Regions from separate parts of the Homo sapiens genome. Here all the other regions are linked to region 1. Evidence: promoter capture Hi-C in 16 types of primary human blood cells and fetal thymus (Javierre and others, 2016). All regions are on one chromosome and are shown on one strand. Each heading gives the region's core, a stretch centred on a gene start or on the middle of the fragment in contact. The rest is flanking DNA. Distances are from core to core; before and after follow the strand shown.

Evidence for each region. Contacts are between HindIII fragments. The CHiCAGO score rates a contact against its expected background, and 5 or more counts as called.
Region 2: a contact is called between a fragment that was not itself captured here and the fragment with the promoter of G6PC2 in region 1, in 4 of 17 cell types (neutrophils, naive CD8 T cells, fetal thymus and 1 more). The highest score is 5.6, in neutrophils.
Region 3: a contact is called between a fragment that was not itself captured here and the fragment with the promoter of G6PC2 in region 1, in 3 of 17 cell types (erythroblasts, naive CD8 T cells and naive CD4 T cells). The highest score is 8.4, in erythroblasts.
Region 4: a contact is called between a fragment that was not itself captured here and the fragment with the promoter of G6PC2 in region 1, in 1 of 17 cell types (total CD8 T cells). The highest score is 5.8, in total CD8 T cells.

The regions. Positions count from the first base shown.
Region 1 is chr2:168,899,470-168,902,586 of GRCh38, forward strand. It overlaps G6PC2 (glucose-6-phosphatase catalytic subunit 2), which reads left to right and starts at 1,822. Exons shown (of 5, transcript NM_021176.3): 1 at 1,822-2,080; 2 at 2,976-3,085. The coding sequence starts at 1,863. The HindIII fragment of the contact is 12,445 bases long and covers 1-3,117 here.
Region 2 is chr2:168,321,594-168,324,571 of GRCh38, forward strand. No RefSeq gene overlaps it. Among named protein-coding and RNA genes, the nearest start is that of STK39, 75 kb to the left of the region's middle. The HindIII fragment of the contact is 1,299 bases long and covers 868-2,166 here.
Region 3 is chr2:168,350,077-168,353,325 of GRCh38, forward strand. The region is part of intron 2 of LOC105373734 (a long non-coding RNA gene); the gene reads right to left. Among named protein-coding and RNA genes, the nearest start is that of STK39, 100 kb to the left of the region's middle. The HindIII fragment of the contact is 9,034 bases long and covers 1-3,249 here.
Region 4 is chr2:168,298,937-168,302,147 of GRCh38, forward strand. No RefSeq gene overlaps it. Among named protein-coding and RNA genes, the nearest start is that of STK39, 53 kb to the left of the region's middle. The HindIII fragment of the contact is 2,990 bases long and covers 1-2,912 here.

The DNA.
Region 1 (3,117 bases), core at 572-3,071:
CACTTAATTATCCCACAGTCTACAGAACCAGGTAGTTCTCGAGAGAAAATCTTTCTAAATTAACTACCATAGATGAAAGGCTAATCACAGACTCTGAGGTGCTGAAGAGCAGGAAGTTTAATTTTTAAGTGGAAGACAAAATGTATTTGATATCATTCACATCCTGATTTAAGGATAAGACATTTCTGAAGAAAATGAGTATTATGAATTACGTAGATCAAACACTTTTTAGAAAAAGAATAAAGGGAAGTTATGCTCTTCCTCATGGCTCATTAAAGAGATTATGGAAATTACAGAACCTGAATATGCAAAACAAAGAAAAGCCAGAAGCATAGACTCTAATTAGTCAAGGATAATTCCTTATATGAATTGCCTTAGTGCAATGATTCTAAGCCCCTTATACCACATTGGAACCACTTGAGAAGTATTTTAATAATACCAATGCCCAAATTCCATTACCAGAAATATAACTGATCTCAGGTGGAACACAGTTATGGCAATTTAAAAAGCACCCCAAAAGATGTTAATGGTCAGTCAATGCATTTCTTCCAGGTAAGGTACCAATAGACACTGAAGCCCAGTAACAATGGTGCTGTTAAATGATGGGACACAAAACTCGAAGAGAAGTTCAAAGTGATAGTTATAGCCTGTGAAGGACTCTAGTGAAGTCTTTTGTCTTTACTTAGGCCATGGTAAGCAAAGACAAAAATCTGAATGACAAAATAACAAGTAAGGTTACCTAGATCCATCCCTGGCCACCTTGTGAGGCTTTGTTGCTTTCCCACTAATCCTAGACACAATCCAGCTCTCTAAACCCAACATCTCTCTGACTTAGATCCATAGCCTCTTTGTGCTACCCTTCTGTTCATTCTCAGTCTACCCTGGTCCATAGTCCAGGGTCCAGTCGTAGTCTATAGTCCAGGACCAGAGTCCTGGTCTATAGTCTAGTCATAGTCCACAGCCGTAGATTATGGACCTATGACTTAGATCCACAGCCTCTTTGCGCTACCCTTCTGTTCATTCTTAGCATTTGTTTGGTGCTTTCCACTTCTGTTTAACACTCTGTTCTCAACAAACCATTTTCCTGATTGGTCAAAAGCCCTTTGATGTCTATTCCTATCTTTGTCACATGAATCATTCCCTATTCCTCTCAACTGTATTCTCTAGTTAATAAAAGATACAATTTGATCCTAACACATTTCTATTATCCAAATGACTTTCATTTCTGCTTTCTTGTCTTATAGTCAAAAAACAACACATTTCTTTCCCTGTTCCATATATATTCTATCATTCTCTTGGATAAAGAAAATTGAACTATTCTTATTTTAAATCAGTGATCAGAACATAATCTGTCATATCATATATTTTTCATACCCAGATATTTATTCAACCATTTTCCTCAAAGACCCAATAAAATAGAGAGCCACAGCCTATCTTAAATTAAAATGCAGGGCTTTATGGGCTATTTGACATGCAATAATTATTTGCAAAGTCTTTTCACCAAACATAGAAATTGCTAATGTCTGACCTTGGAGGAAATGAACTGTACAAAAAATTTCAAGCAAACATGATCCAACTGTTCGCACAAAAGGGAGGTTGCATAAGAAATTCATTGTGTTTCTATCCAAATTTCCCCCTCGAATTGCCACAGATCAGCATGTACTTCACTCTTTGCCACCAATTAAAATCATAAATAGATGAGCTATTCAGCAGAGGAGGGCTGGTGTGCCCTCTCCACAGATGGTCAGCATCACATGTTGCAGTAATGGCTCGACATGCCACAAAGGCACAGTATAAAAACGGTGGGAATCAGAGCACTTCAGCTCCAATTGCTCTATGTTTAGAATTGCCTCTTTTTCAAGATGGATTTCCTTCACAGGAATGGAGTGCTCATAATTCAGCATTTGCAGAAGGACTACCGAGCTTACTACACTTTTCTAAATTTTATGTCCAATGTTGGAGACCCCAGGAATATCTTTTTCATTTATTTTCCACTTTGTTTTCAATTTAATCAGACAGTTGGAACCAAGATGATATGGGTAGCAGTCATTGGGGATTGGTTAAATCTTATATTTAAATGGTAAGATTTCTGTTTTATTTCATTTTTTCCTAAGATTTATCCTTAAATTTGTGACTTCGGCATAATGATCACATTTCAGATGTATATCGTTTTACTTGGAAAATCTTTCAAAAATACCAGGTAACTTGAAACACCAGATTCATAAGTAGAACTTTTAAAAGGCACAGAAATGTATATATATGTTTTTGTTTTTTTTTTTTTTTTGAGACAGAGTTTTGCCCTTGTTGCCCAGGATGGAGTGCAATGGCGTGATCTCGGCTCACTGCAACCTCTGCCTCCCAGGTTCAAGCAATTCTCTCACCTCAGCCTCCCGAGTAGCTGGGATTACAGGCATGTGCCACCACACCCAGCTAATTTTGTATTTTTAGTAGAGACAGGGTTTCTCTATGTTGGTCAGGCTGGTCTCTAACTCCCGACCTCAGGTGATCCACCGACTTCGGCTTCCTAAAGTGCTGGGATTACAGGTGTGAGCCACCACGCCAGGCCAGAAATGTGTACTTTAATGACTTATAAGTAATTCCCAAACCCCTGTAACACATATTCTGTGATTAAGAATTACTTACATGAGCAGCGTGATAATGAACAAATTGATAATTCTAGGGACAAATTTTGATATTTCCAGTCTAAGTATCCAAAGCACCCATAAGACATTCCCTGCAAGGGAAAAAAGCCCCCATGTTCATGGGAAACCAGGGTGCCAAAATACCAAATGGCTACCACCTTTAATAATGTGTGAGAGACCAAGACCTAAGTTTTTTCAAAGTCTCTTAATCATGAACTTTCACAATTAACCCTGCGCTTGAGTCATTTTTTATAGGAAAGAATTGCTAATCTCCAATTAAATAATAGCTGTGTATTTAAATATATATGCATGTTTATAATTCTTTAAATACAGGATATTATTTGGTCATCGACCTTACTGGTGGGTCCAAGAAACTCAGATTTACCCAAATCACTCAAGTCCATGCCTTGAACAGTTCCCTACTACATGTGAAACAGGTCCAGGTAAGCTATTACAGCAGGCTCCAGTTACTGAA
Region 2 (2,978 bases), core at 267-2,766, 580 kb before region 1:
TCCCTGAAAATTCAGAGGCTAGGGTTTTTCAAGGATAGTTTGGTGGGTAGGGGTCTAGGGGGTAGGAAATGATGATTGGTTGGGTTGGGGATGGAATCATAGGAGGCTGAAGCTGTCTTCTTGTACTGAATCAATTCCTGGGTGGGATCAGAAGACCAAATAAGCCAGTTTCTTGGTATGGGTTACCAGTATGGGTGGCAAAAGCTGTTCCATCAGAATGCAGTGTCTGAAAAATACCTCAAACACCAATTTTAGGTTTTAAAATAGTGATGCTATCTACAGAAACAGTTGGGGAGGTTACAAATCTTGTGACCTCTGGCAACAATGGCTGATTATCCTTTAACTACACCCGTATTTTAGCAGAGTTCAGGCCATTCCCATAATCCTAGTCTTGTAGCCTTTCATTGGTTTTATAAAGGTGGTTTTGGTCCCCAAACAAGAAGGGGGCAGTTTTGGGAAGGGCTATTATCATCCTTGCTTTAAGGTTAAACTAAAAACTAAATCCCTCCCCAAGTTAGTTTGATCTACGCCCAGGAATGAATAAGAACAGCTTGGAGGTTAGAAGCAAGATGGGGTCGGCTATGTCAGATTTCTCTGTCACAATATTATGAAGGCGGTGACAATATGAAGAGGGTATTTAAGCCTCAATAATCTGGCCCTTCTCTGAGTCTCATATTTGCAAGGCTTCTGTGTCCATGTACATCCACAAATTTGTATTTAAAATTATGCTACACTTTTTTTTTCTTTGATGCATGACAGGAAGCTGTTTTCAGTAAATGAAACCCAAACTACTCAGTCCAGGTTTTTTTCCCATTAATCTGCCTATTTTGAGTTCATTTTCAGCAAACCTTCAGAAGGCAGAGGAGAAGCTTTCCCTTGATCCCTACATCTGCAGTAAACACCCATGGCCCCTCCTTTGTACAACTCCAAACTTGGCTTTGAATCAGACAGCTCCCCAGGCAGAATACTCTCCATCAACAGCAGAAAGAACTTCAAGAGAATATTGGAGGTGGGTGGGGAGGGTGAAAGGAGAGCCTTAAAGCGATATAAATGTAATTATGAAAATAGTTATATTAAAAAGATCAACAGAAACTAGTAAGTGGTCTGAATATTCTAGTGTACATTTCACACCGTTTTCTAGAAGCTAGAAATTAGTCTTCAGGGACATAAACCAGAGTAGTTTCCTAGAAGGTTCCAAATGATTATTGGCGGTTGTGATCACAGTCTGTAAACACTGGGAGATTGTCCTCCTCATGAGCATCTTGGCCTGAAGATTTGAAACATTTTCTTAGACTAAAAAGTTCCCTGCCCCCCACCTGCACTGACTAGTTGTGAATTTCATTTAGTGAACAGCTTTCTTTCATACATCAAAGAAAAACATGGTAGCATAATTTTAAATATGATTGCCTTTTCATTTAGCCTACATAGCTAAAAATAGCCAACTTTAAAAAACAAACATGTTTTTCCTATCACTGTTTTCAGCCTTCAAATTTGCAGCAACACTATAAACTCATCCCAAATGCAGAGATCTCAAAGAATTATGCCTTTTTAAAGGAATAATAATACCCACTTTCAATACTGAACATATTGGAAATCACATATAATGATTGATGGAGGAAAATTTGTGCTTGTAGCCTAAAGGGTAAAATTTTCCACAGTCTTCCCAATTCTACTGTTTCCATTCAAAGAAACTCACTGCAAACTGGTATATTCATTATTCTCTACTGAGTACACTTAGCCACCGATTACATGAAAATGTGTTATAAAAAATAATTGCTTTTCATCCTCATTAACCAACTATTAGGAAGAAGGATGGAAAATCATTCAGCATTTCATTAATTCTAAAACAGTATTTCTAATGAATCCTCTTATGGAGTTATGTGTAGAAAAGCATTTCCCTCCCTGTTTGCTAGTGAATTAGGCAACACTTGAACATAAAGATAGATATTCCCATTACGAACACATTACAGCATTCCCTATGGGATACGGAGACTCTTCAGCATCTCGGGGAAAAATGAAATCTCACTTTCCCACTGTTTGTTCTCACAGGCTTTGTAGCAAGTCTAACTGAACCTAGCCGACCCTCCTACACGAAATTTACTACTTATTCCTTTTTGAGTCATCGCAAGGAAGCTGCCCCATCGTTTTAGATTACGTGTGTCATAAAGCTTGAAAGGAAAAGGAAGTGCTCCCAGACATCTCCATAAACCCACAGGGAATGCGCCAAAGAACAAAAGGCTCGCACCTGTGTTTTAGTTCTCTCCTTTCCCTCTGGTGGATGCAGGGAAGGATCTGTCTTCTCCACCCTACTCCTCATCTGTTGCTACAGCTGAGCCTCACTCATTTCCTGAAATGAACATTCATCTGGGTGCTACCTAATTGACTTTCACACCGTTTCACACTATCCACCTTTGGTTCAGGGGTGGTAAATCACGGCTGCATTTCTGTCGGAAGTGTCTTGTTATCCTTATCGATAACTTGGGAGTATATTAAAAATATGGAGCTTCAGCAGGTCTGAAGGGACCAGGGCTATAGTTTGAGTTCCTCAGCTGCCTTTTAAATCCAGTAGCGGTAAATCAAATCTACTCAGATCAATAAAATTTAGTCGTTACCAGTTATGTGCAAGACACAGAGGAGTTAGTGCAGGATAAATGGCCAAATGGCTCATAGAAAAGGAACCATCCAGCTAGGCGCAGTAGCTTATGTCTATAATCCCAGCACTTTGGGAGGCTAAGGTGGGAGAATCGCTTGAACTCAGGAGTTTCAGACTAACATAGTAAGAGCCTGTCTCCACAAAAATAAAAAAAATAGCTGGGTGTGGTGGCACATGCCTGTAGTCCCAGCTACTTGGGAGGCTGAGGTGAGAGGATTGCTAAAGCCCAGGAAGTTGAGGCTGCAGTGAGTGTGTCCCTGCACCCCAGCCTGGCTGATAATGTGAAACCTTGTCTCAAAAAAAAAAAAAGGGTAGGGGGACGCAT
Region 3 (3,249 bases), core at 204-2,703, 550 kb before region 1:
AATAATTAGAAAAAGCACAGAATAAAAGAGGCAGTTCTGGTTACAAAGACAACAACCAATGCCAACAAATATTGTCAATACCCCTTTCATCTCCCTGGCCTTGGTTATAAAAATATGATGGTACTATAAAGTGCTAAAAATCACTAATGACATTGGAAACTCTCATCTATTAAAGCAAATGCAAGATGGAATATACTTATTGTAGGAAATAAAGAGGTTTGTTAACAACAACAACAACAACAACAACTCATGACTTTGGGAACAGTCATGTGTTAAAGACGCGAATTCCAGGATCTCAGTCATTTCCTCTCAGTGAAACATTATCAGAGACAAACAGAAAATCAATAAAAGATTTAAGTCTCATAGAGTTTGTGTAAATATTGTAGAAATGACTTTCACAAGAGTGATAAGCACAGCCTTATCACATTTAATTCAGCTGAGAAGTCCAACTAAAACATAAAACTCTAATTACCCCCTCTGATGGCCAGCAGTTTTATAACAATGAAAGTAGCTGGATTTATACTGTATAAGCCAGCACTTGAGCACTCATCCATGCAGCCTTGCCACCTCAACAGGTTGCCAGCACCTGCCTTCCCACTCCTCTGATGCCAAGTAAAAGTGAAGTTTGCTTGTGACGCTCCGAGATTCCTGAATTCATCCCTATTCTCAAAGGAAACTTTTCAATCTCATTCAGACACTTCCCAGCTCTCAAAAAAGACAAGGAAACTAATTTCTACCAAAGTGTGAAACTAGTGATAGTTTAACATGCACCTCTTTATTTAACATGTACCTCCTTATTTTTCCTAGAAGAGTTGCAATTTAACAGGAATCAAAATTCTAACCTACAAGCAGAGCAGAACTGTGTTTATTGTGTGCTATCTTTTGGTTAAGGAACTATATAATTGTATTTGCTTATATTTTCAAAAATTAACAATGAAAGGATGAGACAAAATCTGACAAAAACAATTACCTCTTATATAGGGAGGGAGGAAATGGGGTAGAAAGCACATGAAAGCAATCCTTTTCTGGATTTACTTTGTTTTGTGCTTTTTACTTTAAAACAGAGGTGTGTGCTGGCCAGGCGCGGTGGCTCACGCCTGTAATCCCAGCACTTTGCGAGGCCGAGATGGGCGGATCACGAGGTCAGGAGATCGAGACCATCCTGGCTAACACGGTGAAACCCCATCTCTACTAAAAATACAAAAGAAATTAGCCGGGCATAGTGGCGGACGCCTGTCGTCCCAGCTGCTTGGAAGGCTGAGGCAGGAGAATGGTGTGAACCTGGGAGGCGGAGCTTGCAGCGAGGCCACTGCGCTCCAGCTTGGGCGACAGAGTGAGACTCCGTCTCAAAAAAAAAAAAAAAAAAAAAAAAAAACAACCACTTTGGGAATCATATGTAATAATTTAGAAAAAGAAGGCTACAACATGACCACATGCTATTTATCTGAGGAATCCAAGAATTTAACATTTGAAAATCAACTTAATGTAATTCACCATATAAACAGACCAAATAGGCACAGAAAAGCATTTGACAAAACATGACATCTGTTTCTCATTAAAAATCTCTCAGCAAATTTGGATAAGAAGGGAATGTCTTTAACCTGATAAAGGGAATCTATGAAATAAACTATAGCCATACATCATACTTAATGATGAAATACTGAATACTCTCCCACTAAGGTCAGGACCAAGACAAGAATGTCTGCTCTCACCACTTCTATTTAAGTGTGCTTGAGACTCTAGCTTGGGCAATAATGAAAAAAAAAAAAAAAGAAAAAAGAATAACAGATGTTCAGATTGGAAAGGAAGAAGTAAAACTCCCTTTATTCCCAGATAATGTGATAGCTTACATAGGAAATCTGAGCAAATCTTAAAAAGCTCCTAAAACTAATAAATGAGCAAGGTTGCTGGATACAGGATCAGCAAGCAAGAATCAGTTGCGTTTCTATGTACCTGCAACAAACTATCAGAAATTTAAATAAAACAATGCTGCTTACAGTAGCATAAAAATATGATACATAGATGTAAATTTGACAAGATATGTGCAAGACCTATATGCTGAAAGCTACAAAACATTGCCAAAATAAATTAAAGCAGATCTAAATAAATAAAGATATCATGGTATTGAAGACTTGATATTGCTAAGTTAAAATTATCCTCAAATTGGTCTATAGATTAAACACAATCTCAATCAAAATCTTGGCACACTTTTTTGGTACAAATTGACAAGCTGATTCTGACATTTATATGGCTATACCAAGGACCTAGACTAGTTAAAACAATTTTGAAAAGAAGGAAAAAGTTGAGAACACTAAAAATTACCTGATTTCAAAGTTTATAAAGCTACAGCAAGATACTGTGGTACTGGAGTCAAGTTAGACAAGTAGACCAAGGGAACAGAATAGAGTCCTGAAACAGACCCAAACATAAATGAAAACTTGGTTGTTGACAAAGTTTAAAGCCCAGTTCTTGGACAAAAATGTAGCCTTTCAACAAATGGTTCTGGAAAAAAGGGAATATCTATGTGCAAAATAAATGAACTTTGATCCACATGTTGTACCATATACAAAAATTAACTCAAAGTGAACAATAGACCTAAGTGTAAAATCCAAAAACTATAATACTTCTAGAAGAAAACATATGATAACATTTTTGCAGCCTTGGGTTAAGCAAAGATTTCTTGCACAAAATACCAAAAGCACATACTGGGTGAAAATATTTGCAAATCATGTATCTGATAAATAACTTTTATCAAAAATATCTAAAAACTCTCAAAATTCAACAATAGGAGAAAAAAACAAATGAAAAAGGAAGAAAATTTAAATAGACACTTCACCAAAGAAAGTATATTGGTAGCAAATAAGCACAGGAAAAGATGTTCAACATCTGTAGTTATTATGGAAATGCAAATTCAAACTATCATGGATATCACCACATATCCATTAAATTAACAAAATTAGAAAGACTGACCACACCAAATATTGAGGAGGATGTGGAGAAACCCAAACTCTCATATACTGCAAGTACTTAAAATGTAAAATTTGAAAAATTTTGACTTATGCATATACCCACAAAATTGTCACAACAATCAAGATAGTGAACACATCTGTCATTCCCAAAAGTTTACTCATAATCCCATTTGTAATTCTCCCCTCCCACCATTTCCTGTTGCCCCCTTTCCCTTAGTCCCCAGGCAACCACAGAAGCCACAGATCCTTTCTCTGTTACTATAGTTTAGTTTTTTTATAC
Region 4 (3,211 bases), core at 168-2,667, 600 kb before region 1:
TAGCTCAGTGAGACCCTGTGCTTTGCTTCAGTTTGCACTCTCTGTAAGAGGGCCTGGAGGGTGCCTCTACGTGACAAATCTAGGTAATGTAGGATTTACCTTGCTTGTTTTCCTTCTTTCAGGGATACTGGTCCTGTGCTGCCTGCAGTCCGGTATCTGAAGACAGTTGTTTCAGATCCTTCCCCCAGTTTTCTAGTGTTTTACCACAGGAGAACTAGTCTAGTACCAACACTCTGTCATGGCAAACAGCATAAATTCTAAGGTTGTTAATTTTTAAAACAGAAATAATTTTTCCAAGAGATATCTTATAACTTAAAAGAGTATTTTAAAATGATTTTTAGATTACCGAAGGGATATTGAGGTAAACAAAAAATATATGTGAGAAATCTCCAAGGTATTTAAATGTGGCTACCTTCATGCAGGTCAATGAAAAACAAAACTTTAAGACCCGAGTAGTAATTATGAGCTCATATCAACATTTTTCATTTAGTGTCTTTACTTTTGTTTTTTTGTTTTTTTTTTTTTAGATGGAGTCTCTCTCTGTCACCCACGCGATCTCGGTTCACTGCCACCTTCACCTCTTGGGTTCAAGCAATTCTCCTGCCTCAGCCTCCTGAGTAGCTGAGATTACAGGCACCCACCACCATCCCCGGCTATTTTTTTTGTATTTTTAGTAGAGAGGGGGTTTCACCATGTTGGCCAGGCTGGTCTCAAAGTCCTGACCTCAGGTGATCCACTCACCTTGGCCTCCCAAAGTGCTGGGATTACAGGTGTGAGCCGCCACACCCAGCCTCTCTCTCCCATTTTTAGGTCTACCTTCATCCTCCAAAGATAAGTCATTCATTTGCAAAATATTTTTCTTCTAAAAAGAAATTATTCCTTGAAGGGGTTTATATTTGATTTAAGATAGTTATTTGGAAAATGTTTAAATACACAAAATATGTCTTTCAAAATTCTTTAAGTGGAAATTGTATTAGCTAGATAATTACATGAGTTCAAATAAATGTAAAATCTTTTCAGCTTCACTCTATCAATCTAATAATACTAGCAATAGTAATCACAATAATACCTAATATAGACTCTACCTGTGCCAGGGAGCCAAAATGCCTTACATATGTTAACTTGTTTAGTAAATGATATGGTTTGGCTCTGTGTCCCCACCCAAATCTCATCTCGAATTGTAATTCCCACTTGTAGAGGGAGGCACCTGGTGGGAAGCGATTGTACCATGGGGGCAATTTCTCCCATGCTGTTCTGATAGTAAGGGAGCTCTCAGGAGATCTGATGGTTTAAAAGTAGCAGATTCCCCTGTGCACTTCCGCTCTCCTGCCACTGTGTAAGACGTGCCTTGCTTCCCCTTTGCCTTGCACCATGAGTGTAAGTTTCCTGAGGCCTCCCCAGACATGTGGAACTGTGAGTCAATTAAACCTCCTTTCTTTATAAATTACCTAGTTTTAGGTTGTGTCTTGATTGCAGTGTGACAACAGACTAACACAATACGCCCATGAGGTAGATATTATAATTTATTCACTCCACAGATGAAGAAAGAGAGCTGCAGAAAGATTAGGTAATTTTCCCAAGGTCACACAGCTAGAATGACTCTAATGTATTCAGAATAAATTTTGAAGAAGGTGCCTCTGTCCTAGCCAAAAATAAGACTTTATTAGATGATGTAATCATTTAAATTTACAATCCTTTTTGATTGCTGGCTCAAGTCCCAAACTCATAATCATGCGTAAGGAAAATCTTGCCAGATTAAGTCAACTGAATCATTGCCTGCATTCATTGTATAAGACTCGTATCATAAATATCTTGTAACCAAGACCAGAATTTAGGAGGAAAGTGGCCATTCACATCCCTGGTGTTACTTGGATTGAAAAACTCTATGTCTCTTTTGCTAGCATCACAATAGTTTCACTTAAGACATCGTTCTTGTCTATTTAAATAAAACTAACATTCTGGGTTGTTTTGCTAAAAGAGATTTTATATTTTTTTTTTTACGGGGTTGAAGGTTGAGAGACTTGGAAAGTGACTATGTTTTGAACTCTTGGTGGGAGACAGAACTTTCTTTCAGCACATAAAATCAATCATAGAATTTGATGTATGTGGCCAGGCACGGTGGCTCACGCCTGTAATCCTAGCACTTTGGGAGGCCGAGGCAGGTGGATCACAAGGTCAGGAGTTCGACACCAGCCTGGCCAATATGGTCAAACCCTGTCTCTACTAAAAACACAAAAATTAGCCAGGGGTGGTGGGCACGCGCCTGTAGTCCCAGCTACTTGGGAGGCTGAGGCAGAATAATTGCTTGAACCTGGGAGGCAGAGATTGCAGTGAGCCGAGATCCTGCCACTGCACTCCAGCCTGGGTGACAGAGCAAGACTCTGTCTCAAAAAAAAAAAAAAAAAAAAGAATTTAATGTGTGTTAAAAGCCCTCAGAGGACAATTGCTCATTTTATGTGGTTGAGAATCTACTGATGAAGATAGAAAGTAGCAGCTAACAGAGGAGAAGAAAGTGTTCATTGAAACGCAGGCATGCTAGTTGCAGAAAAGGGTGACCCAGTGTACTCACACCTTCCCCACTTGGCGCAGCCTGAGTGGGTGAAATCCCTTAGGAGCCGAGCTGTGGTACATTAGCAAGATCTATGAATGAGTTCTTCCAGCAACAGCAGAGACACTACAGACCTGATTTGTCAGGAATACCTAAGGGCATCTCTGTAGCGGCCTGAAACCCAGGGGTATGTGTGGGGTAGTCAGCACTAATTCCTCAGGAATTCTCTTTCCTCTGAGTCCCTGGCTGGCATGGCTGAGAACATATATTGATTACATCAGAACTGAAATGCACTATTGCCTGAGCAACGTGGCCTGAAATGATGGTACAATTATATCTCCTCCGGGTGGGATGATACCCACTAAGCTTGTCTCTTTTAGAGCCTCTAAGCATTGAAAACAAATTGGTACCCTTTTTCCAACACATATGTCTAAAAATAAAAATGATATTCAGCCAGAACATACAAATTTTACATTTAGGGGAAAATAAACGGTTTCTTTCTGGATTTCAAGATGGCAATGTTCTGATAAATTCATTGAAGTGGAACCTAGCTTCCTCTCTCTCTCTCTCTCTTTGATGCCCCATGCATGCATTTAGTCTGCCCATCCAGTGATCCAGCAAAGCCCAACAGCCAGCTCAAGTATGCAAATTTTCTTCATATCT